Regions from separate parts of the Homo sapiens genome. Here all the other regions are linked to region 4. The links are contacts of gene promoters, found by promoter capture Hi-C in blood cells and fetal thymus (Javierre and others, 2016). All regions are on one chromosome and are shown on one strand. Each heading gives the region's core, a stretch centred on a gene start or on the middle of the fragment in contact. The rest is flanking DNA. Distances are from core to core; before and after follow the strand shown.

The links. The method cuts DNA at HindIII sites, captures the fragments that hold promoters and counts their contacts. A CHiCAGO score of 5 or more calls a contact.
Region 1: a contact is called between a fragment that was not itself captured here and the fragment with the promoter of GLCCI1 in region 4, in 12 of 17 cell types (naive B cells, fetal thymus, megakaryocytes and 9 more). The highest score is 13.2, in naive B cells.
Region 2: a contact is called between a fragment that was not itself captured here and the fragment with the promoter of GLCCI1 in region 4, in 3 of 17 cell types (erythroblasts, megakaryocytes and M0 macrophages). The highest score is 6.9, in erythroblasts.
Region 3: a contact is called between a fragment that was not itself captured here and the fragment with the promoter of GLCCI1 in region 4, in 4 of 17 cell types (erythroblasts, naive B cells, total B cells and 1 more). The highest score is 7.6, in erythroblasts.
Region 5: a contact is called between a fragment that was not itself captured here and the fragment with the promoter of GLCCI1 in region 4, in 3 of 17 cell types (megakaryocytes, M1 macrophages and erythroblasts). The highest score is 7.3, in megakaryocytes.
Region 6: a contact is called between a fragment that was not itself captured here and the fragment with the promoter of GLCCI1 in region 4, in 9 of 17 cell types (activated CD4 T cells, naive B cells, total B cells and 6 more). The highest score is 10.6, in activated CD4 T cells.
Region 7: a fragment that was not itself captured here is called in contact with the fragment with the promoter of GLCCI1 in region 4 in 4 of 17 cell types (megakaryocytes, erythroblasts, fetal thymus and 1 more); the score reaches 12.9 in megakaryocytes.

Annotation. Positions count from the first base shown.
Region 1 is chr7:7,661,573-7,665,267 of GRCh38, forward strand. All of the region lies in intron 4 of RPA3 (replication protein A3), which reads right to left. The region is part of intron 1 of UMAD1 (UBAP1-MVB12-associated (UMA) domain containing 1); the gene reads left to right. Among named protein-coding and RNA genes, the nearest start is that of UMAD1, 23 kb to the left of the region's middle. The HindIII fragment of the contact is 4,085 bases long and covers 106-3,695 here.
Region 2 is chr7:8,277,426-8,280,888 of GRCh38, forward strand. The region is part of intron 3 of ICA1-AS1 (ICA1 antisense RNA 1); the gene reads left to right. Among named protein-coding and RNA genes, the nearest start is that of ICA1-AS1, 17 kb to the left of the region's middle. The HindIII fragment of the contact is 676 bases long and covers 1,565-2,240 here.
Region 3 is chr7:7,598,297-7,601,919 of GRCh38, forward strand. The region is part of intron 11 of MIOS (meiosis regulator for oocyte development); the gene reads left to right. Among named protein-coding and RNA genes, the nearest start is that of MIOS, 33 kb to the left of the region's middle. The HindIII fragment of the contact is 2,383 bases long and covers 1,183-3,565 here.
Region 4 is chr7:7,967,483-7,970,791 of GRCh38, forward strand. It overlaps GLCCI1 (glucocorticoid induced 1), which reads left to right and starts at 1,314. Exons shown (of 8, transcript NM_138426.4): 1 at 1,314-2,325. The coding sequence starts at 1,869. GLCCI1-DT (GLCCI1 divergent transcript) reads right to left here and starts at 1,270. Exons shown (of 5, transcript NR_110018.1): 1 at 1,062-1,270. RefSeq lists silencers at 1,137-1,286, 1,497-1,896, 1,977-2,036, 2,127-2,206 and an enhancer at 2,687-2,776. The HindIII fragment of the contact is 4,760 bases long and covers 309-3,309 here.
Region 5 is chr7:8,251,383-8,255,155 of GRCh38, forward strand. All of the region lies in intron 1 of ICA1 (islet cell autoantigen 1), which reads right to left. Among named protein-coding and RNA genes, the nearest start is that of ICA1, 8.9 kb to the right of the region's middle. The HindIII fragment of the contact is 3,240 bases long and covers 849-3,773 here.
Region 6 is chr7:7,615,425-7,619,135 of GRCh38, forward strand. No RefSeq gene overlaps it. Among named protein-coding and RNA genes, the nearest start is that of UMAD1, 23 kb to the right of the region's middle. The HindIII fragment of the contact is 5,558 bases long and covers 1-3,711 here.
Region 7 is chr7:8,296,926-8,300,494 of GRCh38, forward strand. All of the region lies in intron 3 of ICA1-AS1 (ICA1 antisense RNA 1), which reads left to right. Among named protein-coding and RNA genes, the nearest start is that of ICA1-AS1, 36 kb to the left of the region's middle. The HindIII fragment of the contact is 4,184 bases long and covers 1-3,557 here.

The DNA.
Region 1 (3,695 bases), core at 898-3,397, 310 kb before region 4:
GGTCTGCTGAAGTTTGCTGGAGGTCCAGTCGAGACCCTGTTTGCCTAGGGATCATCAGCAGAGGCTGCAGAACAGCAAAGATTGTTGCCCGTTCCTTCCTCTGGAAGCTTTGTCCCAGAGGGGCACCCACCAGATGCCAGCCAGAGCTCTCCTCTATGAGGTGTCTGTCGGCCCCTGCTGGGAGGTGTCTCCCAGTCAGGAGACATGGGTGTCAGGGACCCACTTGAGGAGGCAGTCTGACCCTTAGCAGAGTTTGAATGCTGTGCTGGGAGATGTACTGCTTTCTTCAGAGCTGGCAGGCAGGGACGTTTAATTCTGCTGAAGCTGCACCCACAGCTGCCCCTTCCCCCGAGGTGCTCTGTCCCTGGGAGATGGGAGTTTTGTTTATAAGCCCCTGACTGGGGCTGCTGCCTTTCTTTCAGAGATGCCCTACACAGAGAGGAGGAATCTAGAGAGGCAGTCTGGCTACAGCGGCTTTGCTGAGCTGTGGAGGGCTGTGCCCAGTTGGATCTTTCCCGGCATCTTTGTTTACACTGTGAGGGGAAAACGGCCCACTCAAGCCTCAGTAATGGCAGATGCCCTTCCCCCCACCAAGCTCGAGTGTCCCAGGTCAGCTTCAGGTTGCTGTGCTGGCAGCGATAATTTCAAGCCAGTGGATCTTAGCTTGCTGAGCTCCATGGGGTTGGGATCCACTGAGCTAGACCACTTGGCTCCCTGGCTTCAGCCCCCTTTCCAGGGCAGTGAATGGTTCTGTTTTGCTGGCGTTCTAGGGGCCAGTGGGGTATGAAAAAAGAAAACACTCCTGCAGCTAGCTCGATGTCTGCCTAAATGGCCGCCCAGTTTTGTGCTTAAAACCCAGGTCCGTGGTGGCATAGGCACCGGCGGGAATCTCCTGGTCTGTGGGTTGCGAAGACCGTGGGAAAAGCGTAGTATCCGGACCGGAGTGCACTGTTCCTCACCGCACAGTCCCTCAAGGCTTCCCTTGGCTAGGGGAGGGAGTTTCCCAACCCCTTATGCCTCCTGGGTGAGGCGACACCCCACCCTGTTTCTGTTCGCCCTCCTTGGGCTGCACCCACTGTCTAACCAGTCCCAATGAGATGAGCCGGGTACCTCAGTTGGAAATTCAGAAATCTCCCGCCTTCTGTGTTGATCTCACTGGGAACTGCAGATGGAGCTGTTGCTATTCGGCCATCTTGCCAGCAACCCCTCTTCATGTATTTTTAAAATGGTTAATGGTGAGTGTTAAAATGTTGTGGTGTTTAGATTTTGTTGAATAAATTTAAAAGAAAGATATAATGATTTTGTTTCAACATGTAAATATTTATAGTATGCTAGAAACTATGTCCTTTATAATTTTCAATGGAAAGTTTTAGATGTGAAATTAAAAAGTACATAATTTTCTCAAAAAAATTTAAAGAAGTGTGTGAGTGCTTTGAAAAAGCCTTTTTTGCCTGTAGCCCAAACTAGAAAATAGATTTCTTATTATAACCCAGCACAGGCACCCAAATGCGAAAGTTTATAAAGCATTAGTTACCATGTATAATGCTCTCAATCTTTTTGCCTTCTTTCCCTCTTCCCCTACTTTTTTTTTCTTCCTATTTCATTCCATTAAAAAAAAAAAGTCTGGTCTTGACCTGCTAAATTGTTTACTTCCACTCAAGGGTTGGAACTTGCAGTTTGAAGCAAACACCTAAATCTAAGATAGTTTTTTCTTTCTTTGTTTTTCTTTCATTTTTTAAAAGTCTGAGCATAAATAAGAGAGGTGGAAGTAAAATTTATGTTAATCAATTTAATTAATTAGTTTCCAAGCTGTTCTGTGGAGCTGAAAAGTGACATCAGTTTAAATGTCTTCTCTTGCTTATCCTCTCAGGCATCTGTACCTCTTCCCCATTACACCAATATCAAAAACTACAAAATAAAAAACCTAGGTGGGACGGAAAAACAGGGGGAGAGTCTTTATGTAATACTAATTAGTAGTCTAACTGATACTAAAGGATAAATTTTAAAAGAGGATTAAATCAGGTCTCTACTATGAATCTAAAATCTGTTAAATACTGAACTTGTTAATTAAGGAGAGAACTAGTGAGATACTGCAACTGGTTCAAAAGAGAACTCAAAGCCTCATCACACACTGATAGGCAAATAAGGAATGTAAAATTTATAAATGGATGCAAAATTGGTTAGTATCCCCGGGGCAATAACGAATGCATTTTACCAGAAGCATTTTTATGGATAGGAATTACATGCATGACTATCAGTTTTATACAACTGATCTCCTATTCCTACAGATTTATAAAATAGCCTAGTCAAAACAAGCAAAGGTGGGAATAACCTGAATGGGTGAGCTAGCCAGGAAATCTACTGAATTCTAAAGTATTAAACAATTTTTCCTTCTACTGATTAGATTTAGGCTATTAATTCCTAACCTAGGTCTAAAACACTTTGCCACCTGAAGGCCAAGTCCAGTTTTAGAGGATTTCTACCATCTGCACAGTATTTGTAAACATCGTGAATTTCTTGCTATTATTTAAAACCTAGATTTTTACATAATAGCTGGATTTCCAGTTTGTCTTGGAAAATCAGATTGAAATGGAATTTACTATTATTTTCTTCTCTTAAGATAAAGTCCCCTACTTTTCCTTTTCTTATTCATAATACCACTTTTCCATATCATTTCTGTACATCCCTTCTTTTCTCATTCAAACTTCACCCATCTTAATCCAGTCCCGTTTCAGTACAACTGTCTTAACTTCTTGGCTCCAGGCTCTTCTCAGTCTCTCTAGCATGCTATTTTACATTTAATCTCTCTTAAATACTTTGCTCAAGACTCCAGACTGCCCAGTAATGTCCAACAAATCCTGTTTTGCCACTCTGAATATGCTGACACTTTCCTGACGCTTACAACTCTTCAGTAATTTATTTCTTCCCTTCTTTTGCAGTCTTGATTTCTGTTGCTTATCTACATGGTTCCTTCCTCTAGTGAGGTTAATCTCTTTGCTTTCCTCTATACCCACTATGCTTTTTGTTCATGTTGATCCTTCCTACAGGAAAGGCCTTCCTTCTCTTCTTTGTTTATACACATCAGATGAAGTTAAACTCAAGGCTACCTAGTCTGCGCAGCCTACCAGAGTTCTAATTCACATTGATCTTTCTGGAATGTTTTATGCTTTCTAGCGTTGTTTTAGGTTGTGTATTCTTATCACTCAAGATTAAAGCTACCAAAAGCATGGCCTACCTTCCTCTGTACTGTATTGGTATCTCTGAGGAGAAATTAGTAAACTTGTTGTCTAAATTTTTATATTTGCATAATCATGCATTTCACTGTACAAAAGGAGGAAGGTTAAACATCGTTCAGGATTTTAATTTTTCAGCACTGTGAAATTTACATATTTATTGTATTTGGAATAAAATGTGTGTGGGTGATATATAGATATATATATATACACACACACACACATTCATACACATGTATTTACATTATTCTGTCTATAGACAGTAGCTGCATCAATCACACAGGAATTTTAGTCTATTTGATATATTTACATTAACTAGTAGTCTGTTGAAATTCAAAGGAGATAATCAAATTGAGAAAACCATGTTGCCTAATCCTTTTGTCATGGATAATATTACTTAAAAGGGAAGCCTTGGAGTAATAGGAAAAAAGAAATATATTCTAGTGCTCTCCTACCTCTATT
Region 2 (3,463 bases), core at 653-3,152, 310 kb after region 4:
ATGTGCAGTTAGAAATTTTTGTATTTTTCTGTATATTTACATTTTTTATGGTTATCATTGTGTTTGCCAGTTCAACAGATTAGCTTAGATTCAGCTCGCAAAGGAAACTACCATTCCAAAAGCTGTCCTTACAATTTAGGTACATTTCCATCAGGTGGCAGTAGTGTCTTTGTCCTGGTTGAAAGCAGGAGATCTCAGCCCTGCCAGCTATCAAAGTTTTTCTTGGCTGGGCTTTATCCCCAGATATTTTGATTCAATAGGTGTGGAGTGGGACTGTATGTAGCATCTATAAGTTTATAAAGATCAGCATGTGATTCTGATGCCCTGTTGTTAACCACGGTGAGTTTGATATTTCTGGTTAGGCCTTCTGCTATATCTACCAGATTTAGTCATAGACGTTCTACTTTTTAATGTCAAAAATAATCTCTTCATCATGTAAAGCAGAAACAATTTTAGAATAGTTTTTAAAAGTCTTTAAATTCACATAGGTCCCATTTCTTATTTCTACTACTGTTTAATATTTAATCCTACAATTTTTATTTAAAATGTATCTTAATATATACTCAAACCTCCCCAATGACTATGACCACGACTTGCCTTTTTAAAAAGTCAGAGAATATATGATTCCCTCATGGGCGTGAAGCTCTCTCCTTAGGGCAGAGGTTCTTAAACTTCAGTGTGGGCAAGTAGACCTGAGAGGTTCATTAACAATGTGCATTCTATCTTGAACTAATGGATCAATTCTTGGAGTGAGGCCAATAATTGCACATTGTAAGCCATCTCCCCAGGTTATTCTGATACACACCATATTTTGAGAACCACTAACTCTGGCACTGAGAGGCTGGAGCAGCCTGGGTAAGGTAGAGAATACAGAGAGAGGGCTCACAGAGTCCAGGTGCAGATCTGTAAGAAACTGTGTTCCCTTCTTCCTGTGCTTCATCTTTGTGTAAATGGTGATAAGTGTGCTCTTATTCAGGCCATATCTGGCTCAGTAACCCTGAGGAGTTACCAAGTATTGGTTGGTAAGTTTGCAGCAGAAACCTGCCAACTTATGTTGCCAATCTTAGCATGGAACCTGGGACACGCAGTAACTATTTATTGGTTTACACTGAGGCTATCCTCCTCTTCCTCCTCTGTTACCTTTTCTTTCCTCAACGTAACCTCTTCCATCTATTGTCTTTTCTCCCTGTTGTGTTGGTTTGTGATCCACTCTTGAAGAAACACCCATGTAGATCAGATTTAGACACTAAAAAGAAGAAAATATTTTTCTGAAATCCTATCAATAACAGTGAAATCACCCATTCATATTTAAGTTGCAAGAATAGCATGTTTGTTAATTATCTTGGGTTAAGTTTTTTACTATTATGTACAATTGTATTTGGTCTTCTTTAGTTTCATGACTATGCTTTTATTTTGAGCAGTTTACTTTCATTTACTAGCATCTTAATATATACAGCCTGAGTTGTCATCTGCCTTTGATTTCAGATAAACTGTGTTCCTTCTGCAAAATATGCAGCAAATGATTTTCTACTAAAATTTGTTAGGTTGGTAGGAACACATGATAAGCTTGGATCACTGGATTTTCATTTTTGATATTTTATGTCCTAAACACACTTGCAAGTTATTTATCAATGTTTATGTTAAATCAACATCTAATAAGTATTGCCTCAGCATTACTTGAAACCTACAAAATCTTAACAGTAGACTTTAAAACAAAAATGTAGATCATGATAGAAGCTGGCAACTTGATTAATCTCTTTCTAAAGCCTTTACTTAAAACTATAATTATATATGCAGTTCTCTGTCCACTCCCCTGCACCCCACCATAAACAAGTTATATTCCTTATTGTGATTTTGAAAGGAGGACTAACTACAAATGGCTAGATTAACACTATTTATATAAGAGCTTTAATCTTGTCTGAGCCATCGCCACCTTTTTGTAGGCACTATGACTTCTCACTTAAGTTATGGCAATTGTCCTTCCTCCTGGAAGGACCCTCCTAATCTATTATCTAACCTAAACCAAGGGTACATCTTTCTAACGTACAAACTTAATTGTACTGAATAAAGACTTTCTTTGGCTTCAAACCTTCTGGTGGTTCCCTATGAGGTGGTTATCTATTGCTCTGGCCACCTGGATCTTCTTTCTTTACTGATGGAAATAAAATGAGAGTTTAAAATTTAATATTAGAGGACACATGTGCCGGTCCTTCCTGGGGAGGAGAAGCTATAAAAGGAGAAGCTTGGGAGCTGTCAGTGGCCATGTTTTTCACCATGTGCAGGAACCTGGTCAGTAGTGAGAAAGGATTAAACCAACCCATGGGGAAGATCAGAGATTAGAGGTAGGGAATACATATATATATATATACACACACACACATATATATGTATATATATGTGTATAAATATACACACACATATATATGTATATATATGCACACGTATATGTATATATACACACATATATATGTATATATGCACACACACATATATACACATCTATATACATATATGTATATATACACATCTATATGCATATATGTATATATATACACATCTATATACATATATGTATATATATATACACATCATATATATGTATCATATATACATATATGATATATATACATCATATATATGTGTGTATATATATGTGTGTGTGTGTATATATATACACACACACATATATATATATGATGGAATTTCTCTCTTGTTGCCCAGGCTGGAGTGCAGTGGTGCAATCTTGGCTCACTGCAACCACTGCCTCCCAGGTTCAAGCAATTCTCCTGCCTCAGCCTCCCGAATAGCTGGGATTACAGGCCTCTGTCACCATGCCTGGCTAATTTTTTGTATTTTTAGTAGAGATGCGGTTTCGCCATGTTGGCCAGGCTGGTCTTGAACCCCTGACCTCAGGGATCCATCCACCTTGGCCTCCCTAAGTTCTGGGATTACAGGCATGAGCCACTGCACCAGGCCCAGAGATAGGGAATATTCTGCAGGTGGTATTAGAAGCTCTCATTCATGTGGTTCTGTCCTTCCAGAAGTTGGTTTTCCAACCCTTCCTCGGATCACGTGAGATACCCCAATACAGTCTTATGAAGAACCCCTTTTATCTAAGCCAGATAGAAATAGATTTCTGCCACTGCAAATAAAAAGGTGTTCCTTAGAATATAGCTTGTAAGGGCCTTCATGAGATGGAACTGCCTTATCAATTGAGTCTTTATAAAACCCTCAGGAATGTGCTTAGCTGAAAGTAATAGAACACATGACAAGTAGACTTAAATAATAAAAGCATCCTGTTTTCTGACATATCAAGAAGTGTTGACAAAGACAGTTCCAGGGTTGGTTTATCAGCTCAACTAAATGACAGTGACTTAGTCAGCTCTTTGCAATTCTTTGGATCTTTTCCTTGATCACAAGATGGTTGTAGGAGCTCCAAATTGTCTTTAAGACCTAGGTGAGC
Region 3 (3,623 bases), core at 1,124-3,623, 370 kb before region 4:
TAATTCTATTCTGTATCGTGTTCATTTAAGTAGTCTGCTTTATCATTACATTAACATTTATGAAAGACTTGCTGGTATCATTGGCTTAGCGATTATTTTTCCATCTAGATGCTTTTTTTAAAGAAATGAAGAGAATATGTAATGTTTTAAATGTACATTTTAGTTTTGATTTAAATTTTAATCAAGGATTTTTATTTTATACATTACATACTGATCACTGTTTTATGTTAACTCTGGTCCTAATAAACAGAAAATAACAATTTGGAATATCTACAACAATGAGAGCTCGAGGTAAAATATAGCATAAATAAGACATATATGTGTATGAACTGAGATATATAGAAATAATTAAATGTAACACATCTTTTGGACCATAAGCCTCAGGAAGCTATAAGGATTATTTGCATTCTTACACCTGGGCACTCTTCCTTTTTGCTGAATACCAGTTTTTCAATCTTTTCTATTTTTGAAATAGGTAAGAAAAGAAAATAATTTTCTAGAATTTGAAGAAAAATCTTAAAACATTTGAAATTCTTTGTTATGATGACTAATATAACGAATAGCACTCAGGTTTATCAAATATTAACATTTTTCCATATTTGTTATAGAATTTTTTTCCATATTTGCTACAGAAATAATTTCTTTATATATATAATACATATTTGAACACTGATTTTACTTGATACATTAATATAATGCTGATGTGCTGAGATGAATAAATCAAAGAACCTCTTGGAGCTCTTGGTGTGCAATAAGCATAGTTAACGAATATAAAATAAGTGATATTTTCTAGAAAATAAATACTGGTCTACAATGCCTTATCTGTCATTTCAAAGTCTCTAAAAAGATCTGAAAATCCAATGCCTTTTAAAAATAAAATTACGGTAATCTCATTTGACCACAAAACCTGTTCAGAATTGATGTGAGGCTATTAAGATATTTATTTCTCTTATTTATTAGTGAATATTCATCTTTCACTACAGAAATACTAACGAGTTTGATTACAGGGTGCTTTAGACTTCCCTCAAGGTGTACATATTTGCTACTTTTTTCTAAAATCCCAAACATCCTGGATTCTGAAACACATCTAAACCCCCAACATGAATTAGGACTATTATATAAGGAAAGAATTAGGAATTTTGAAAGTGGGAAATATTACTTCTATCTGAAGGATATCTGGAAAGCTTTAGGAGGAAGTTACCATTTAAGCCAGTCCTTTAAAGTTTGGTAGATTTAATATATGAAGATTGCAGGGAAGCCGTCCAGGTTGCAGACCAAGTGTAAAAAACATGAACTAGGGTGAAGAGATTGGTAAGTATTATGATAAGTACAGGGGGTGTTTGGGAAGAGCAAGTGTATTGTTGTGAAAGGACCTAGGAAGTGAACTGATAAGAAACAGTAGGAAAATTAGGGAGAGCCTGAATATGATCTTTAAAGGCATTGCTGAGCTAAGTTAGAGAATAATCACTCTTTATAATAGCAAAGACATAAAATCAACTTCAATGCCCATCAGTGGTGGACTGGATAAAGAAATGTGGTACATACACAGCATAGAATACTATGCAGCCATGTCTTTTGCAGCAGCATGGATAGAGCTGGAGGCCATTATCCTAAGCAAACTAACACAGGAACAGAAAACCAAATACCACATGTTATAAGTAGGAGCTAAACATTGAGAACATATGGTCATAAAGAAGGAATAACAGACACCAGGGCTTACTGGAGGGTGCTAGGTGGGAGGAGGATCGAAAAACTACCTGTCGGGTACTATGTTTATTACCTGGATGATGAAATAATCCGTACACCAAAACCCCCATGACACGCAATTTACCTGTATAACAAACCTGCACATGTACCCCTGAAACTAAAGTAAAAGTTTAAAAAAAAGAAAAAGAAGCAAATTATTTTTTTTTGGCATGTGAAATCAGAAAAGTCCATTTCCAAAGTAAAACAGGATCTAATAGAAATCAAGTGCTGGATAATTGGATAAAGAGTCAAGACCCATCAGTGTGCTGTATTCAGGAAACCCGTCTCACGTGCAGAGACACACATAGGCTCAAAATAAAGGGATGGAGGAAGATCTACCAAGCAAATGGAAAACAAAAAAAGGCAGGCGTTGCAATCCTGATCTCAGATAAAACAGAGTTTAAACCAACAAAGATCAAAAGAGACAAGGCCATTACATAATGGTAAAGGGATCAGTTCAACACGAAGAACTAACTATCCTAAATATATATGCACCCAATACAGGAGCACCCAGATTCATAAAGCAAGTCCTTAGTGACCTACAAAGAGACTTAGACTCCCACACAATAATAATGGGAGACTTTAACACCCCACTGTCAACATTAGACAGATCAACGAGGCAGAAAGTGAACAAGGATATCCAGGAATTGAACTCCGCTCTGCACCAAGCGGACCTAATAGACATCTACAGAACTCTCCACCCCAAATCAACAGCATATACATTCTTTTCAGCACCACACCACACCTTTTCCAAAATTGACCACATAGTTGGAAGTAAAGCACTCCTCAGCAAATGTAAAAGAACAGAAATTATAACAAACTGTCTCTCAGACCACAGTGCAATCAAACTAGAACTCAGGATTAAGACATTCACTCCAAACCGCTCAACTACATGGAAACTGAACAACGTGCTCCTGAATGACTACTGGGTACATAACGAAATGAAGGCAGAAATAAAGATGTTCTTTGAAACCAACGAGAACAAAGACACAACATACCAGAATCTCTGGGACACATTCAAAGCAGTGTTTAGAGGGAAATTTATAGCACTAAATGCCCACGAGAGTAAGCAGGAAAGATCTAAAATTGACACCCTAACATCACAATTGAAAGAACTAGAGAAGCAAGAGCAAACACATTGAAAAGCTAGCAAAAGGCAAGAAATAACTAAGATCAGAGCAGAACTGAAGGAAATAGAGACACAAAAGACCCTTCAAAAAATCAATGAATCCAGGAGCTGGTTTTTTTTTTGAAAAGATCAACAAAATTGATAGACTGCTAGCAAGACTAATAAAGAAGAAAAGAGAGAAAAATCAAATAGACGCAATAAAAAATGACAAAGGGGATATCACCACCGATCCCACAGAAATACAAACTACCATCAGAGAATACCATAAACACCTCTATGCAAATAAACTAGAAAATCTAGAAGAAATGGATAAATTCCTGGACACATACACCCTCCCAAGACTAAACCAGGAAGAAGTTGAATCTCTGAATAGACCAATAACAGGATCTGAAATTGAGGCAATCCTTAATAGCTTACCAACCAAAAAAAGTCCAGGACCAGATGGATTCACAGCCGAACTCTACCAGAGGTACAAGGAGGAGCTGGTACCATTCCTTCTGAAACTATTCCAATCAATAGAAAAAGAGGGAATCCTCCCCAACTCATTTTATGAGGCCAGCATCATCCTGATACCAAAGACTGGCAGAGACACAACAAAAAAAGAGAATTTTAGGCCAATATCCTTGATGAACATTGATGCAAAAATCCTCAATAAAATACTGGCAAACCAAATCCAGCAACACATCAAAAAGCTTATCCACCATGATCAAGTGGGCTTCATCCCTGGGATGCAAGGCTGGTTCAACAT
Region 4 (3,309 bases), core at 64-2,563:
GATAATAATAGTATCTACCTTGTGGATTATATGAGGACTGAATGAATTAACACACATAATGTTCTTAGAATAGCGGCTGGCACATGGTGAATAAATGTTAGCTCTTATTATAATATGTGGTAAACTGAGGAACTATCACTAGTTTTACTTGGATGAAGTACTGCATGAAATTTTTGTATTTTTATTGAGTTTCATCAATTTTTTTACTGAACCTAGTATGCTTTCTCGTCTGAACACACAAGGAAGAAAAGAAGGATGGCTCCTGTACGTGAAAGTGACCCCTGCATATAGTGCCTGAAATCAGAGGAAGCTTGTCAGTGTGGGCAGACACCACGAGCAGACCAATTTGACATTGTGCTTCTCTTTTAACCTCTTGAAAATTAATGAAAGTTATCTGATGAAGATCCTTACATTAATTGCTCCCGATTAAGGTTTAAAACCTTGGTTTACTGTGGGGTAAATTTATGTTTTTGATAGTCATCCAAAATCTTTGTACGCTTTCAGTTTCATTACAGAATAAAAAACAAATTTACCACAATGGATTATTACATTACATCTGGTATTTATTCCTCCCAAGAAGCTATCTGCTTCGGAAAAGCCAGGGGCGCCCTTCATTAATATATCTAACTGATGGTGTAATGACATAAAATTCCTTGTTGACCCCTGCTATTCAGTGTTATTGTCTTGGAACATAGAACTTGATAATCTCTTTTCACTGCATAACTACAAATGTTAGGCTGTAAGAGTATTTTACTTTGTTCAGTGCAGGTTCCAGACATTTCTCCTGATCACCAGAAGTTCTTTTGATTAATAAGGCTACTGGTCACGAAAACTCAGCTTACTAAAAGAGATCCAGTCTTCTGGTTCTAACTAAAACATCCCACCGGATGCAGGTGTACTTGCAAATTAAAGTTTGCCTCATGTGTCCTGTGTCTCAAGTCATACAGACGGCCCAGGAGGGTGGAGCCCCTGCAACCTGCCTAGCGGGGCGTTTGCGTGTCTGGGGGTGTCGGGACACGCGCAGGACACACACAGTCCCACTTTCCTAGTCTCGCACTTACCTCAAGGCTGTCAACTTTTACGCTCCTCCCTGCGCGCACAGCCCCCACCTCACGCTGCCACCCCTCACGCCCCGCCTTCAAAGTAGGAGGCACCATTGTCATTGGACACTGCTTCTCTCACTCCTATTCCAGAACCAATCACTCGAGTTCTAGTGGGGAGCGCCTAAGCCAATGGAAATGCTCGCTGCGGCAGCTGCCGGGTCCTGGGCGCTGGGAGGCGGTGCCGGGGGCGGGGTGCGGCTGGGGCGAATTAGTTGCCATTCGGAGTGAGGAGTGGGTAGAAGCGGCGGCGGCGGCGGCGGCGTTTGCGGTGGCGCGGACTCCGAGGAGCGCCAGCACCTCGAGGCCCTTTCTCTCTACCCTGGTCCCCAGAAGCAGGGGTCCCGGCCCTCCTTGCAGCTGCCGGGTTCTCCCGTGCGTGCAGCCCTGCGAGGGCTGAGGAGAAGGCTGCGAGCGGCCCTCGGGGCTGCGTGATCCGGGCCGTTGCCCTGTCAGCACGATGCCTGGAGCGGTGGCGGCGGCGGCTCCGGGCTCCTTGCGGCCCCGGCCGTGACCGCCACACCGAGCCCAGCCGGGCGGTTGCGGCCGTTGGACGTTTGTTTTCGCAGCCTTCCCCTCCCCCCTCGCCGAGGCGGCGGGGGTGTGCGTTGGGGAGGGGGAGCCCCGAGACTCCTCCCCCACAGCGATACCCCCGCCCCTCCCCCTTACACACTCGCACGCACTATCGCGCCGGCTCCCACACGCTCGCGCGCCTCCCGCCCCGCGCCTCCGTGTCGGCCGGCGGCGTCCAGGGCCCGCAGAGCCACCATGTCCACTGCCTCCTCCTCCTCCTCCTCCAGTTCCTCTCAGACCCCTCATCCCCCGTCGCAGAGGATGAGGCGCAGCGCCGCGGGGTCCCCGCCCGCCGTCGCCGCCGCCGGGAGCGGGAACGGTGCGGGCGGCGGCGGCGGCGTGGGCTGCGCCCCGGCTGCGGGAGCCGGCCGGCTGCTGCAGCCCATCCGCGCCACGGTGCCCTACCAGCTCTTGCGGGGCAGCCAGCACAGTCCCACGCGTCCGCCCGTCGCCGCTGCCGCCGCCTCGCTGGGCAGCCTCCCGGGGCCCGGCGCGGCCCGCGGCCCCAGCCCGTCCAGCCCGACGCCGCCGGCGGCCGCAGCCCCGGCCGAGCAGGCGCCGCGGGCCAAGGGCCGCCCGAGACGGTCCCCAGAGAGCCACCGGAGGAGCAGCTCACCTGAGAGACGGAGCCCCGGCTCGCCCGTGTGCAGAGGTAGCGAGCCCAACCCTCCCGTCCTCCCGGGCTGCGTCTCCCCGACGGTGCCCTCCGTGGAAACTTCAGCCTCTTCGGGCTTCTCTTTGCTAGTGCATTATCGAAGGTGTGAAAGTGGCTTTGGGAATCTCACCCCCCTGCGGTCGCTGTGGGGCTTGGAGGAGCGAACTGAAAAGCGACTTTTATTTGACCCTCATGCCGCCCCTCAGAGTCTCTCTTCCATCACTCGCCTGCTTCGAGAGGTTTTTCAGTTTAAGAGCTGGCTAGCTCATTCGTGTGTTTGCCGTTTGTAGCCGGGGAAGGAGAAGCTGGGCGAAACACTTAACACGCACACAAACTCTTCAGCAGCGGATAAGGTGGCGGTTGTAATCTCTACCGTCTCTTTGTGCTTTTCTGCAAAGTTCCTAACGTGCCTGTAACTACCGGGATAGTATTTTATTTTTTAGAGGGTTGGTGGCATTAGTTTCGATGTAAGGATATCGGCTGGATGTAATGATATCTGCTAGAGGGGACAGTTTTGAATGTACAATTGAAGTGTATACGGTTTTTTCCCTCAGTCCTCCCTCTCTCCCTCTCCCCCAGCCCCCCGCCACCCCGCCTCTCTCTCTCCCTCTCTTTCTCCCCCTCCCCTTTATATATTCATGCATCAGAGCACTCCTGCACTGGAAACAGTTTGTGCTCTACCGGAGATTTTCATGGTAAATTTCTGAAAACTTATTTGTGGAACGTGTTCGTTTTTTTCCTTCCATTTTTAAGTACACTTAACAGTTCAGTTGAGCTGTTCAAGGATCTCAAGTTTCTTTTTTTGTTAGGTGTCAAAGGTAATGGTGAGCTGGTGGATGCTGTGGGTTTCCCTTAGTGTTTTCTGTTTTGCTTTGGTTTTGTTTATGTCTAGGGACACAGTGCATGATTTAGTTGAGCCCTGGGGGAGAAAAGGAAGATTAGCCAAAACAGGGACTTAAAGCTCATAAGGGAGAGTGGAAT
Region 5 (3,773 bases), core at 1,219-3,718, 290 kb after region 4:
ACACACTTAGTCATCACTTCAGCGATCTGGCTTCACTTTGCTCATCTGTAAAACAGTAGACTAGGCAAGTGGCCATCTAGGATGCCCCCAGTCACAAAAATAAAAAACTCAAATTATTTTCAGAGACATTTACATCTAAGATAAAGCTTAGAGATAATGAACACAACATCCTTTTCAATGATTAAAAAATTGGGGTTCTAAAAATAGAGATGACTTGTCCAAGATCAGGTTAAAGGTCAAGTTCACATAGAGGAATGCTGGGAATGAAACATTCATCAGCCAGTTAACAATTTGGTGCTCTCCTCTGTCTCTTCATCTATTCCAAGAGATGTTTCTGAAAGGAAAATATCAAATATAACAGAAACCAAAATAAAATTGCCAAGCTACTTTCTAAAATGTCATCTTCAGCATTAATATTATTGTAAAATTTTTAAATATTATATCCATGTAAAACAAATTAAAAACAAACCAGAAAACTCAAACTGCTCACAAAAAGTGTGGTCTAGGTCTTGCTCCTCTTTCTTTTGCTTAAAGCCCTCCTTTCAAAGGATGATCGATGGTGAATTTTGTGCTACACCAAAAATCATGGCAGTAATAACAAAGAGGTAGGTATTTGCAAACCACAAACCTAAAAGAAATCTAGAAAGATAAAAATATAAAGTGTAAAACAACACTAGAAACAGAACAAATGGGTTACCTCTGCTAAAGAAAAAAGTAATTTTAAAAGTTTGCAGTATAAATTATATTCACCTTTGATTTTATTTAGTTTGGTTTACATAAATTTCAAATATCAAATCAAATTTCACATACAGATTTTACTCTGTATTTATGGTGGTGTTTTCTCTAAAAGCTTAATTTCAAAAGCTGAAGAATGAAGGAACACCCTAATCAGATAAAAGTCTCGATCAAGTTCTGTGAAGGAATACTACGCCCTTCGATGTCAGCACAGAACATTATTAAATCATAGGTCTAAATGTTATCCTTATATTTTATTGGGATCAAATTATAAAACTTGGAAGGCTCTTACAAATCTTACTTTAAAGAATTGCACCAACTTAAATTTTCTTTTTATGGAAGAATAACCTCAGATAAATTGACTTTATCATCTAAGACTATGCAGTCCAATATAGCAGACACTAGCCACATGTAATATGAGCACTTGAGATACGGCTGGTATGAATTCAGATGAGCTCTAAATGTAAAATTCACACTGGATTTTGAAGACTTAGTAACAAAAAATTAAAATGTCTCATTAATAAATCCATGTATTTATAGTTATAAAAATTATTTCATGTTGATATATTGTATATATCTAAATTTTATATAACTACATTTATATATTACATATTTACATATGTATATTATATATTCTGCTTTATATTTAATTATATTTTTTGCTTATTTATTACTTTTTTATATTTTACGTTGAAACAATATTTTGAATATTTTGGGTTAGATCAAATAAATTATCAATTTAATTTAAGCTGTTTCTTTTTAGTTTTTGTTTGTTTTGAGACAGGGTCTTACTGTGTTGCCCAGGCTGGTCTTGAACTCCTAGGCTCAAACAATCCTCCCACCTCAGCCTCCTGAGTAGCTGGAATTATAAGCATGGCACACGCCACAGCCCCCACCTTATTTCTTTTTAGTTTTTAAGCCAAAAATATTTTACTACTAGAATGTTTTAAATTATATATGTGGCTGCTGTTATATTTTTGTTGGAGAGCCTCAGTCTAAGGCATCAAACAAATCAAAAAAGAGCTAGAAATTAATTCTATAACTTCGGTCACCAATATTCTGTACTAGTTACAAATACCCTTAAACAGTTATTTCTGCTCAGAATCTCTGACATTCTGTCAGAGATGTCATTACAAAAATAAAATCATATGTATCTTCTTTTGAAATAACCTACAAAATGATTGTACTCCATATTTTTACAAGTTTAAAAAGGTCCAAATCTGTGTGCACAATGTACTATTTGTGTCAAATTAGATTTATGTGAATAGTAAGTGAAGTGGTGGGCTACTATAAGACCATCAGAAGTAAAAATGTAAGGACAATGTGATGTAATATATACAATATGTATCCACAAATGTAAAATGTATACATATATTTAGAAATCACAAATATATATAGCTGACCCTTAAAGAAAATGGGTTTGGACTGCATAGGTCCACCTATACACCAGTTTTTTTCAACCAAAGGCAAATAGAAAATATATCTTCTATTTTTTTATAATCATATTTTTATATTTAAGTACATTTTTTGCTTATAATTAAATATAAAGAGAGAAACCTGGCATGAGAAACCTGTGTATATGGAAAGTCAACTTTTCATATACATACATGGGTTCTGCAGGGCTCTGCAGGACTTGAGCATGTGTGGATTTTCATAGCTGAGGGTGGTCCTAGAACCAATCCCCTGTGTATACAGAGGGATGACTTTAATTCATATGTACATAGAAACGTATGAATGGTTAATAATAACAGTGTGAAGGAAGAACCAAGAGTATGAATGTGGGGACTATAATTATATGAAATTGCACGTAAGCATAATATCAGCCATCAGAATAATCAGGGAGATGCTAATGTTTATAAGGTTCTCTTCCTTTAAGATTAAATTCATAATTTGAAGCCTCCAAAAGATGTGATCAAGCAATTTGTTATGACTCCACAGAACCTCCTGGCTGAGAGTGAGGAGAGAATTTACACATCATTTAGTCCAACCTCCTCTTTTCACTGAAGGAACTGAGGGAAATTTGGGGAAATTTCCCAAGTCACAGAGTAAAATTTGTCTCATTAGTCTTAAATTACTGAACTATGCAGACACCAATATGTGGTTTATAAAATGTGTATGCTGTGCACGGGTCCTGTAAACAAACCACCACAGCTCCTTTATCTGGAAATGGCACATATTCCAGAACTTTCCTTGGTTAAGCTGTGGCAGGTAAATCATGTTTGAGTTTGGGCTGGCTTAGGAGCAGGGAATGCAGGCAGTCCAGGCAGGGGAAGGGAGGAGCAAGAAAGGATCTCAGAGGTCAGCAGCAAAGGGAAGCAGGCAGCAGAAGAAAGCACTATATGATCATGTATGCTCAGCTAACAGCACCACACTTGCGTCTGCTGGGTCATCTAGTTGGCGTTATTTGAGAACTAATAAAGATCCCTTTTTCAGGTTCTCTCTACTTTCTCAGGAAATAAACAGCAGCAAAGCCCAGAGCTTATAAAGCACAAGACTGGTTATTTTGATGGGGGTCAGGAAAGACAGGGATATTGGGCATGTACCCTCTAGGGCAGACCAGGTAGAAAACCCAGAAAGTTGCTTGAAGGTACTGAGTTCCAGGTTAGGAGTGCAGAGAAGAGAGAAACAGGAAGCAGAAAGTGGGGAGTGGCTTAGCACAAACACAACACAATGTTTACATACTTCACAATGATGCCAATGCTGCAAATGGCAACACTGAGTCAACAGCATTAGGCACCAGGACACTTAGCTCCTGGCCTTCAGGGAGCAGTGGGAAGAAAACCCTGCAGGGTGGTGACAGGCAGTCTCCCTCTTCACGCACTCTGGGGAACCATGGCCTTGGCACTGCGCTGGGCACCTTCTGTCACAGTTTCCACTCTCTGTGCACCCCTGCTCACTTCTTTGGAGCTATCCAGAATCATGACCACAACCTGCTGTTCGCTTCCTTCTCCCTAGGAAGGACAGCTCCTACACTCTTACCCCTGCCCACCTTAGTCCATCTTTCTGTCTCTTCTCTTTCATGTTAATCAACCTCCCTT
Region 6 (3,711 bases), core at 557-3,056, 350 kb before region 4:
TTCCTCTCTCTTCCCCTGTTGAATTTCAAATTCAAATATAAACAGTTGGTTTTGGTTTTATCTGCCTCTGAATTAAGACACTACCTTTACTACATTGTATTGGTCACCCAATTGAAGTGCATGTGCATTTTCTTCAGAGCTGAGACGCATTGATTATACAACAAAATGGAGCTATCATAGGTCCTCAATCCAGCTGCTCTGTCCTATACTTGATTAATATTCTTTCCACAATCTGTTGGTAGTGGTATTGTGACTTTTCATTTCTGTCTTTGTGAAATTTTAAGAAGAAGCTAACAAAGGCTGCTTTGAGGACTGCTAAGTAGAGGACATTTTTACCTAACATTGATTAATGTAGATAGCTGAGACTTACTTGTATTTTGAAAAATGGGAAGAAAATGGTCATGGTAAGAAGCACTGGGTGATAAGAAAAACACATAGTAACAAGATTTCTACATGTGAGCCAATAGCAAACTTCCTCTATGTGTTAAAATTCTCCAATGAGAAATACAGCAACTCGTTTCAGACACCATGAGATGGACAGGTTAGGCCAAGTTGTGCTTGACCTAGTGGTGAATGACCACACACTTCTTTACCTTTGGCACAAGTGGTTCATCAATCTCCCACTTTCCCTCAGATCCTTTTTCAGCGTAGTATTCTAGGCACCAACTGCCAACTGGCCAGTGTTCACCTGTTTGTCATTTTCAGCTTAACTACCAATTTGGACAATTGGAGAGGTATTCGAACCGGATGGTAAAGCTGAAATTAGATCTCAAGTCTCTTCACTGAAGTCTAGTACTCTTATATTTCATAGACAATGAACTGGACCAGATGAATTCTTCTGTTAGTATGATGTATATCATATGAACTTCCAATAATTTTAAAGCTAACTTTTTATTATAAAAATGATACAGGCTCATGGTAAAGTCACTGTGGGAAACAGTATGGTGTTTCTTCAAAAAATTAAAAATAAAATTACCAGGCAGATGTGGTGGCTCACACCTGTAATCCCAGCACTTGGAGAGGCCATGGTGGGAGGATTGCTTGAGCCTAGGAGTTCAAGACCAGCCTGGGCAACACAGCGAGGTCCCAACTCTACAAAAACAAATTCCAAAAATTAGTTGGGCATGGTGGAGCATACCTGTAGTCTCGGCTGAAGCAGAAGGATCACTTGAGCCCAGGAGTTCAAGGCTTCAACAAGCCATGCTTGTGCCAATGCACTCCAGCCTGCGTGATAGAGTGAGACCCTGTCTCAAAAAAAAAGAAAAAAAAAGAAAGAAAAAGGAATTACCATATGATCCAGCAATTGCACTTCTGGGTATATACTTAAAATAATTGAAAGCAATCTTTTGAAATGGTCTCAAAGAGTTATTTGTGTACCAATATTTATAGCAGCATTATTCACGATAGTTAAAATGTGAAAGCAACTCAAGTGTCCTGGACAGATGAATAAGGAAAATGTGGTATACATATTCAAAGCAATATTATTCAGCCTTATAAAGAAAGGAGCTGGATATGGTGGCTCACGCCTGAAATCCCGACACTTTGGGTGGCTGAGGTAGGAGGATTGCTTGAGGCTGGGAGTTCAAGAAGAGCCTGGGCAACATGGTGAGATCCCATGTCTACACAAAATACAAAACTGGGCCAGACATGGTGGCACATGCCTGTAGTCTTAGCTACTCGGGAGGCTGAGGTGGAAGGATTGCTTGAACCTGAGAGGTGAAAGCTGCAGTGAGCTATGATCACACCACTGCAATACAGCCTGAGTGACAGATTAAGACCCTGACAAAAAAAAAAAAGGAAATTCTGATATGCTGAAACATGAATAAATTTTGAGGATATTATGCTAAGCAAAATAATCTAACCAAAAAGACAAATACTTTATGATTCCACCTGTATAAGGTACTTAGATTGGTCAAAATCATAGAAAGAGAAAATAGAAAGGTGGTAGCCAGAGACTAGAGGGGAGGGAATGGGGAGTTACTGTTTAATGGATACTGAGTTTCAGTTTTACACAATGAAATGAGTTTTGGAGATGGATGGTGGTGATAGTTGCACATAATTATGAATGTATTTAATATCATTGAATTGTATGCTTAAAAAAGGTTAAGTTGGTAAATTTTATATTATACGTATTTTGCCACAATAAAAAATTGGGAAAAAATGCAGGCTTATCACAAGAAAAAAAAATTACATAAAGTATAAAGTGGAAGTAAATATCTTCTTAGCAGTTTGCCCCATTATCTTCCTGCTCTATGTGTCACCTCCCTAAACGCCAACTCTCACTTTCTAGGAAAAGCTGCTTTAAAGTCTGTACACATGTAAGGAAATGTTCTTTACATAAACCACATCTGGCTGTGTTTGTCTGCGTTCATCTTTGCCTCTCTCTCTTTGCCTGGATAAGATCATACTGCATAAACTCTCCTCTAATGGTTTTTTCCTATCTAAAATATGTATTTTGAAGAGTTTCCCTTATTAGCCTATATATATCTAATTTTTAAAAACTGACTGAATGGTGTGTGATTAGATGTCTATATCTCCCATTGATAGAAATGTAGGGTATTTCCATTCGTTTTTACAAATGATACTGCAGTGAGCATCTTTGAGTATAAATCTTTGGGTACTTGTGAGTGAGTTAATTTCTCAGATAAATTAGGTGGAATTATGAGCCAAAAGTTATGTGTATTTTACATTTTGATAGATATTGACAAATAGCCCTCCAAAAGTTGAACTAATTATCTCCCTATAAACTAAACAGCATAGGAAAGTGCCTGTTTTCCCAACACCTTCAACGCTAAGCATTATAAAATTTCTACTTATAGCCATGTAGTAGATGAAAATATTGAAAATATTTTAATTTACATATATTCAATTCTGAATGAGGTTAAACATAGATTTTATATGACTATTCACTGTTTGTATTTATTTACAATGCACTGCTTGTTCATTTCCATGCTCAATTTTAATGGTGTTTACTTTGAGGAAAAAAAAACACCTATATGGAAAAGCCCTGAATTATATGTAATTCCCTCTTTCTACACCTTTTCTGCTATAATTTGAAAGTTAGCTTTGGTCAGTTTTTTCACTGTCACTGTTTCTTTCCTCCCTCTCCTCCCTCTCCTCCCTTCCTCCCTTCCTCCTTTCCTTTCTTCCTTCCTTCCTTGACAGGGTCTTGCTATATTGCCCAGGCTGGAGTGCAGTGGCTATTCACAGGTGTGATCCTAGTGCACTACAGCTTTGAACTCCTGTCTCAGCCTCCTTAGCCGCTGGGAGTACAGGTGCATGCCACTGCACCCAGTGCCTTGTTTCTTTTATGATAATCATTTCTCTTTCAATGTTTAACCAGATTCTCCACACCTTGACAGCAATTAGGGTGAGGAGGACTAATAGTACTGCCAAAGGCCCCTGATGGTCTTGTTTCAGAGATAATTTTTGTTACAACATTGCTTAGCCCATTATGCTTTATAATCTTCTTGTCAGTAACTGTGTGTCCTTGGTATTCATCTTGTTTCTCAGTCATTTCTACTATAGAAAGAATCATATTTTCGAGAATAACAAAATGTCTGATACCCTGTTTTCAGGATACCTTCATATACTAACAGACCAAAGTGACTGGACTTGGCCAATTCAGTTACAATGAATCCTATTGAAAAATGAACCTGGTTTACCTGAGGGCTAACCATTCAGGAACAACTGTTTATCATGAAGACTTTT
Region 7 (3,569 bases), core at 216-2,715, 330 kb after region 4:
TTTTTTATACATAAATGAATACATAAGCAAGTGTACTTTTATGAAATGCATACTATTTCCCTCTCACATTTAAATTCTCAATTTGTGATGTGTAGAATCTTAATATTTCCTTTAGTGCAGAGTGACCGGCACCTCCAGTTTAATCCTTCTCCAAAATGGTTAACTCAGAATTCTCACCATTCCCAGTCTCGGTCTCCACCATGGTGCTTTAATTCTCTTTTTTTCAATACTATTTAAAAGTATCATCATTGGCCGGGTGTGGTGGCTCACGCCTGCAATCCCAGCACTTTGGGAGGCCGAGGCAGGCAGCCACCTGAGGTCAGGAGTTTGAGACCAGCCTGGCCAACATGGTGAAACCCCATCTCTGTTAAAAGTAAATAAATAAATAAATAAAAATACAAAAATTAGCCGGGCGTGGTGGCACACACCTGTAATCTCAGCTACTTAGCAGGCTGAGCCAAGAGAATTGCTTGAACCTGGGAGGCAGAGGTTGCAATGAGTAGAGATTGTGCCACTCACTCCAGACTGGGCGAAAGAGTGAGACTCCGTCTCAAAAAAAAAAAAAAATTATCATCATTATTATCTTGTCTGTTCCTGGTTCTTTCCTTACTATGTAAGAGAAGCAACCCAAGTCGCAGTGCATTTAAATGCTTTTCCTAAGGCTCTAGTAAGGGCAGTTAGAAATGGAAGCCGGAACTTTAGATGGTCTGGAGCGTGGTCTGGAGTCTTTACAACACACCCAAACTATCCGCACACATGGAAGGGTGAGAACCTCCCTATCCAATTCCTTTGCATCAGCTCCTCCTTCCTTTATTGTCTATGGCTTCTGGGACGATTGTGAATAAGAGAGTGATCCAACAACAGAATGTGGAGACAACCTCTCTCCCCTCTGTAGCTGTGTCCACTTTGGCTTTTGATACAGGGAGTAGAGTCACAGACAGGCATGTATTCACTTTAGTTTCCCTAGGAACGCAGACAGGTGGTTCAGACAGAAATCAGAATTATTTATACATGACTGTAGGAAAATATTTATTCAGGGAACTCTGACCATTTTATGCTTGAATCATTTATATTCTCTACTATTTAGAGCTGCAGTTGGCCTTGCTATCATTTATTTATTTGTACATTGAGTCAGTGAAGATAAATTTTCTTAATTTTTTTTTCCTTTTTTTTTATTTTATTTATTTATTTATTTTTATTATTATACTTTAAGTTTTAGGGTACATGTGCACATTGTGCAGGTTAGTTACATATGTATACATGTGCCATGCTGGTGCGCTGCACCCACTAACTCGTCATCTAGCATTAGGTATATCTCCCAATGCTATCCCTCCCCCCTCCCCCAACCCCACAACAGTCCCCAGAGTGTGATGTTCCCCTTCCTGTGTCCATGTGATCTCATTGTTCAATTCCCACCTATGAGTGAGAATATGCGGTGTTTGGTTTTTTGTTCTTGCGATAGTTTACTGAGAATGATGGTTTCCAATTTCATCCATGTCCCTACAAAGGACATGAACTCATCATTTTTTATGGCTGCATAGTATTCCATGGTATATATGTGCCACATTTTCTTAATCCAGTCTATCATTGTTGGACATTTGGGTTGGTTCCAAGTCTTTGCTATTGTGAATAATGCCGCAGTAAACATACATGTGCATGTGTCTTTATAGCAGCATGATTTATAGTCCTTTGGGTATATACCCAGTAATGGGATGGCTGGGTCAAAAGGTATTTCTAGTTCTAGATCCATGAGGAATCGCCACACTGACTTCCACAATGGTTGAACTAGTTTACAGTCCCACCAACAGTGTAAAAGTTGTTCATATTTCTCCACATCCTCTCCAGCACCTGTTGTTTCCTGACTTTTTAATGATTGCCATTCTAACTGGTATGAGATGGTATCTCATTGTGGTTTTGATTTGCATTTTTCTGATGGCCAGTGATGGTGAGCATTTTTTCATGTGTTTTTTGGCTGCATAAATGTCTTCTTTTGAGAAGTGTCTGTTCATGTCCTTTGCCCACTTTTTGATGGGGTTGTTTGTTTTTTTCTTGTAAATTTGGGTTCACTGTAGATTCTGGATATTAGCCCTTTGTCAGATGAGTAGGTTGCGAAAATTTTCTCCCATTTTGTAGGTTGCCTGTTCACTCTGATGGTAGTTTCTTTTGCTGTGCAGAAGCTCTTTAGTTTAATTAGATCCCATTTGTCAATTTTGGCTTTGGTTGCCATTGCTTTTGGTGTTTTAGACATGAAGTCCTTGCCCATGCCTATGTCCTGAATGGTAATGCCTAGGTTTTCTTCTAGGGTTTTTATGGTTTTAGGTCTAACATTTAAGTCTTTAATCCATCTTGAATTGATTTTTGTATAAGGTGTAAGGAAGGGATCCAGTTTCAGCTTTCTACATATGGCTAGCCAGTTTTCCCAGCACCATTTATTAAATAGGGAATCCTTTCCCCATTGCTTGTTTTTCTCAGGTTTGTCAAAGATCAGATAGTTGTAGATATGCGGCGTTACTTCTGAGGGCTCTGTTCTGTTCCATTGATCTATATCTCTGTTTTGGTACCAGTACCATGCTGTTTTGGTTACTGTAGCCTTGTAGTATAGTTTGAAGTCGGGTAGTGTGATGCCTCCAGCTTTGTTCTTTTGGCTTAGGATTGACTTGGTGATGCGGGCTCTTTTTTGGTTCCATATAAACTTTAAAGTAGTTTTTTCCAATTCTGTGAAGAAAGGCATAGGTAGCTTGATGGGGATGGCATTGAATCTGTAAATTACCTTGGGCAGTATGGCCATTTTCACGATATTGATTCTTCCTACCCATGAGCATGGAATGTTCTTCCATTTGTTTGTATCCTCTTTTATTTCCTTGAGCAGCGGTTTGTAGTTCTCCTTGAAGAGGTCCTTCACATCCCTTGTAAGTTGGATTCGTAGGTATTTTTTTCTCTTTGAAGCAATTGTGAATGGGAGTTCACTCATGATTTGGCTCTCTGTTTGTCTGTTGTTGGTGTGTAGGAATGCTTGTGATTTTTGCACATTGATTTTGTATCCTGAGACTTTGCTGAAGTTGCTTATCAGCTTAAGGAGATTTTGGGCTGAGACAGTGGGGTTTTCTAGATATACAATCATGTCATCTGCAAACAGGGACAATTTGACTTCCTCTTTTCCTAATTGAATACCCTTTATTTCCTTCTCCTGCCTAATTGCCCTGGCCAGAACTTCCAACACTATGTTGAATAGGAGTGGTGCGAGAGGGCATCCCTGTCTTGTGCCAGTTTTCAAAGGGAATGCTTCCAGTTTTTGCCCATTCAGTATGATATTGGCTGTGGGTTTGTCATAGATAGCTCTTATTATTTTGAAATATGTCCCATCAATACCTAATTTATTGAGAGTTTTTAGCATGAAAGGTTGTTGAATTTTGTCAAAGGCCTTCTCTGCCTCTATTGAGATAATCATGTAGTTTTTGTCTTTGGCTCTGTTTATATGCTGGATTACATTTATTGATTTGCGTATATTGAACCAGCCTTGCATCCCAGGGATGAAGCCCACTTGATCATGGTGGATAAGCTTTTTGATG